2 separate regions of the Homo sapiens genome follow, and region 1 is linked to region 2. The links are contacts of gene promoters, found by promoter capture Hi-C in blood cells and fetal thymus (Javierre and others, 2016). All regions are on one chromosome and are shown on one strand. The core of a region is centred on a gene start or on the middle of the fragment in contact, and the rest is flanking DNA. Distances in the headings are between cores, read along the strand shown.

Region 1 (2,700 bases), core at 88-2,587, 8.1 Mb before region 2:
ACTCATCGCCTTGCAGGAACATCTGTTTCTGGCTGTCCTCTGACCTTCCTGGCCACTCTTGTCTCCTTGACAAGCTCAACCTCCTCTGCCCAGCTCCATCCCAGGCCTCCTTCTCTTCTTATTCTATAGCCTCCCCACAGGCAATCTCACCCATACCCATGGTTTGAGCTCTTGCCTCTACATGGAGGTCTTCAAAACGGTAAATGGCCACCCCAATTCTCAGCACAAAACCAGTACCTCAATAAAGGCCTCAAAGGCAGCTCCAGCTGAACACTTCCAAAACTAAAGTCATGCCCTTCCCATATCCAGAACCTAGTTCTCTACCAGTTAAGCCCCAGCTCAGTGAATAGCACACATACCTCTTTAGTTGCATAGGTCTGAAACCTAGTAATCACTTAGCACCTCTTTCTCCCACTCCATTTACTATTTATCACCATATCCTGACAATTTTTTATCTCCATTTTCTCAGTATTTCTGTTTATCATATATGGCTCTTAAAAGGATCAGATGAGATATGCTAGCACTTTGAAAAAAAAAAACCTTAAATTTGAGTATTAGTATACATTAACTGAAATCTCTTTGAAAGCAGTAACTTTGGCAAGTTCATCTTTTTTATTTATGCCACATGGTACCCCTAGGACGGTGTTTTGCATGCAGATGGCCATTAAGTAAATATATTGCAATGTATTATTTGAATTGGCTTCATACATGTTCAACTGAGACATTTATATATTTTTAACAATCTATATTTCCCAATCCAGCCATCAAAAAATGATCTCCTAAGATGATGAGACTTTTAAGTTAAATGACCCTGTGAAGCGTATGCTACAATGGATACTTTTGAGTCATTATGATGCTCGTTGTTTTAAAAGCCTATCACCCTTGGCCTAGCTTTCCTAAAAAAAATCTAAATCCAATATTCAAGCCCAAATCTCACATAAAAGAGTCTTACTCCCCCTTACAGTTCATTTTGAGTGGGAGAAAGTATTAGAGGACTATTTAAGCTTTAAGTACCCTGAAGGCAGACAGAATGACAACTTGTAAAGTTGCCTATCTCATTTTCGTATCTTGCAATGAGAGCCGGGATGACATTCTGAGTATGAAATACACTGTGCAATGAAAAGAATTATTGTTGCTGACAACTTCCCAAACTCTTGCATTATGTACATAATTGCAGGCTCAGATTTCAAGACTGTCCTCTAGCAAAATCTCACCACATCAATTCAAAAAACAGCTCCCTAGACTAGATTTCCATCTACATCACAATCTTGCTCATAATCCTCATTCACACAATACTTTTCCTTCATCGTACCTATCAAACTTGCAACCACCTATCCGTTTGTATGACCATTTGCTTCTTGTCTATTTTTCCCTCTATTCACAGCTGTATTCCCAGCACCTAATAAGGTGCCTGACATATCACAAAAATTAAATGGCTCTAGGTGAGTCAATTAATCAAATGAGGAATGAAACAGTCACTTAACTGGAACCAAACAGCAGGGAAACACAAAAGCAAATGAAACAGACCTCGAGGCTTTAAGATCTGATTCTCACCCCAAACCAGACAGAGGATGATTTTCCCCTTATAATTTGTGCGTTCTTCATTTCTCCCATTCTTCCTTTCTTCCTTCAAGGAGAACATTTTAGACCCTCAGAATATTTAAGCTTTAAGTCACTGAGTCTAAAGCCTTACAAATTCAGTAACTGAGATCCAAAGATACGAGGTGACTTGTCACCTTGACCCTTAGGTCCAATGGACCACTCTGCCCCACACCCAATGTCATCCTACAAAACCAATATTTTTATACAAAAGAGAAACCAGGAAAAGTCTAGAGAGAAAACGCATGCGACAATTAGAAGGCTTACTCATCCCCAAGTGTGAGGAACTGCCCAGAAAAATGCCAGAAAACAAAATCAAGTCTGTGCAAAAGATTCCCATGTCACACCACCTGTCCCCTATAATACCCTTCTAATACACTTTCAGGAGCAACTCATCAGCACCCTTAACTCTCAGAACTAATTTGGGGAAACAAAATAGGTTGATAAACATGAAAGAAGGTATCATCAAACTACAACTCTCCTGGCCACCCAGACTAAAATCCACTGTGGAAACTATTCAGCCAGCCACCAAGGAGAGGCAGCAAAATATAGTGCTTAGATTTCAGAGCTCTGGATTTACACAGGCCTGTCTGAATCCCAGCTTCTTACTAGCTGAGATCTGAGGCAAGCTAAGTCGTCCAATCTGCAGTTTCTCCCGCTGTAAAATGGGAATAACCCCCACCCCAGAGGACTGTTAACAGTGTGAAGACACTGTACATAAAGCTCTCCAAACAGTGCGTGGCATGTAATAAAAGCTCAATAAATGTCAGCTATTTGTCATTCTTTTCAGCTATAATTTCGTTCACAAAGCCTACTGCCTTTCTAGCTTCCATATAATTTTAAAGACATTCCTCCAGCCTTTTCATTTTCGAGGGATCTTTTATACAGCAGCTTAGAGCACACTTTCTAGTATCAGACTTCCTGCGAAAACCATTTGAAAACCTGTGCCTCGGGCTCCTCATCTGTGAAACGAGCCTGATAACACCTACCCCACAGGACTGCTGGTAGTAAGCAGTCCCCGAGTTACCCAACCTATCAACAGTATATGATTAAAACGCACTTGGGGAAAAGCAAAGCTGCAACTCTCAAACCCCAAACGAC
Region 2 (2,700 bases), core at 178-2,677:
GAATCTTTGCGCAAAAGCCATGAGGCAGCAAGGTGCAGGGGCTTTTAATGACCTAAGGGAACGCACTGTGGGGTTGGGACCATGATGGCCAGAGGAGGTTTTGACAAGAGGCTAGTCAAAGAGCAGAGAAAAACTTTAAGGAGTTTTAAGAAAGGGAAGTGCCACGATGAGTTTTGTGTTTGGAAATGTTTTAGGCGGCCACACCGCAGTCTCGGGACTGGCTGGGACCTGGATAGACACTTGGATATCAGCTAGAAAGCTACGACAGGAAACCAGGCGAGGACGAGGCAACTGGGGATGTTGTGGAGCAGAGACGGAGAGAAAATGGGTGCATTCGAGACAAGTTAGGGGGAAAAAATGCAAGGACTTGGAAATGAACTTGGGGCGCGGCAGGAAGGCATGACGGGTTGCTCTGTAGGTCTTATCTGTAAATTACGGCGATCAGTGAAAGATCTGGAGGAGGAAGGTGGACACACTCTCTAACAAAAAAAACCCTTTTTGAAATTTTATACCAATATTTTAAAAGTAAACCAGATCTTTTCAGACATGCCTTTGAGCTGATATTTGTTAACTAGTTAGAATTAGAAACTTTCCTTATTTTTACTCAGTTACAATATACGCCACAGCTGAGGTGAGAGGAAAGAAAAGGTTGCTTTCTTAGGAACAAAGAGTGGTACCTTCAGTATCGTGGGCAAAGCTTTTCCAAGTCCAACAGCAGTCAAAACAGCGCTTTTTATAAATAACACTCAGCTAAAAGTTTCTGGGTTTGTGATTGTTCCAACGGTTAAGCTCGGATGAGGGTCCCTGGAGTCGTAGCTCCCGGGAAACGTCGACTGGCTTTCCACCTGGACTTCATCCGTCCAGGCAGCCCAGAGGGGCTTCAGGCCCCGCCCGCTCTCCTGCCAACTACAGCCTCGCGACTGCGCTCAGCCTTCAGGCCCCGCCCCTTCGGTCAAGCGGCGTGCTCTCACTGCACGGCGCCTGGGCCCCGCGCGCCGGGACCTCGGTTTCAGCCGTCCTGTCCTGCCCCGAGGCCCCTAGGCCCCGCCCCTGGGCCCCGCGCGCCAGGACTTCGGTTTCGACCGTCCTGTCCCGCCCCGAGGCTCCTAGGCCCCGCCCCCTCTGTCCCCGGCGTGTTCTCGCGGCTCCGCCCCTAGGACCCGCGCGCCGGGACTTTGGCAAGTTTCAGCCGTCCGGCCCCGCCCCCTCGGTCCCACGGCTCTCGCGGCCCCTCCCCTAAGTCCCACACGCCGGGACTTTGGCAAGTTTCAGCCTCCAGCCCCACCCCTAGGTCCCGCCCACTCGGCCAGCGGCTGGCTCTCGCGGCCCCGCCCCTGTGCCCTGCGAGTCCCTATTTTGGGAGCATTGCGGCCGCCGTGCCCCGCCCCTCCCCGCGCGCCCCGCCCCTCTGGCGGCCCGCCGTCCCAGACGCGGGAAGAGCTTGGCCGGTTTCGAGTCGCTGGCCTGCAGCTTCCCTGTGGTTTCCCGAGGCTTCCTTGCTTCCCGCTCTGCGAGGAGCCTTTCATCCGAAGGCGGGACGATGCCGGATAATCGGCAGCCGAGGAACCGGCAGCCGAGGATCCGCTCCGGGAACGAGCCTCGTTCCGCGCCCGCCATGGAACCGGATGGTCGCGGTGCCTGGGCCCACAGTCGCGCCGCGCTCGACCGCCTGGAGAAGCTGCTGCGCTGCTCGCGTTGGTAAAGACGGAGCTTCTTGGGGGTGGCTGCGAGGGCACGGGTCGCACAGTTTCTGGGGGCGGCAGAATCTTTTCAAATCTTCCGTTTCCTCCTTCCGTTCCCGCGCTGCAGTCGGGTCGGCGTGCGGTTAGCACCTGCCGGGGGATATAGTATTAACAACTTCTGCTTCTCATTCACTTTATTTTTGGGCGACTTACCGGCCTCCCCTTGCCCTGAATCCAACTGAAACGGTAGTTTTTGAACTTCAGCGGGCTGAAGAACCGTCTGGAGGTGTGGCTAAAAAAATGTTCATCCCGGTCGCGCCTCCAGAGTTTGAATCGGGCTGGGGTGGGGCTGAGGCTTCTGCATTTTTTACCCGGCCCTGGATTACCCCGCTGCTTTCCGGGAGCTGTGGCGAATTGGGCTGGCGGGCCGCCCCGGAGACCCTCTAAATTAGAAGCAGCTGCCACTCTAAGTTAAACTGGCCTTTTTGACATTTTCTCCGTGCCAGCTTTTTCGAGTGAGATGGGATGGAGCATCGGATATCTACCATAGTTGTAGATTGAAGATGGCACGGAATTTCTCATTTTCTTAGTTTGCTCAAAAGACTGTATGTCTGGTGTCCCCGCTCTTAGTGATGCTGTTTATTGTTTTCCTTCATGCTGTCACATTATGGGAGTCCTCTCAGGGTTTTCATTCCGTCCAAAGACATTTTCATGAGTGTTACTTCTTGCTTTTTTTCGTGTAGCTCTTTCTAGTATACAAACCAAGAAGGTTTGTAAAACCCAAGAAAGGTTTGTCTCATTTTCATTTCTTCTGAAAAGCATTTTTATTGAGCACTTGCTGTGTGTACAGCTAAGTATTTCTGTATGAAGATCACTGGCAGTTTTTTTGTTATTTGTAGCTGTCAAAAGTTTATATCCTTTTTGGACTTTTTTCCCCTTTGATTTCTAACTTGCAGAACTTAAGTTACCTAGTTGCATAAAGTATAAGTAACACAACTTTTTCTTTTCTTTCCTTTTT

The links. Contacts are between HindIII fragments. The CHiCAGO score rates a contact against its expected background, and 5 or more counts as called.
Region 1: a contact is called between a fragment that was not itself captured here and the fragment with the promoter of BARD1 in region 2, in 2 of 17 cell types (total B cells and non-activated CD4 T cells). The highest score is 7.3, in total B cells.

Annotation. Positions count from the first base shown.
Region 1 is chr2:222,861,814-222,864,513 of GRCh38, reverse strand. The region is part of intron 1 of ACSL3 (acyl-CoA synthetase long chain family member 3); the gene reads right to left. Among named protein-coding and RNA genes, the nearest start is that of ACSL3, 2.1 kb to the right of the region's middle. The HindIII fragment of the contact is 661 bases long and covers 1,007-1,667 here.
Region 2 is chr2:214,808,410-214,811,109 of GRCh38, reverse strand. It overlaps BARD1 (BRCA1 associated RING domain 1), which reads left to right and starts at 1,427. Exons shown (of 11, transcript NM_000465.4): 1 at 1,427-1,698. The coding sequence starts at 1,541. It overlaps SNHG31 (small nucleolar RNA host gene 31), which reads right to left and starts at 881. Exons shown (of 4, transcript NR_110292.1): 1 at 678-881. RefSeq lists a silencer at 949-1,518 and enhancers at 2,069-2,148, 2,439-2,488. The HindIII fragment of the contact is 4,673 bases long and covers 700-2,700 here.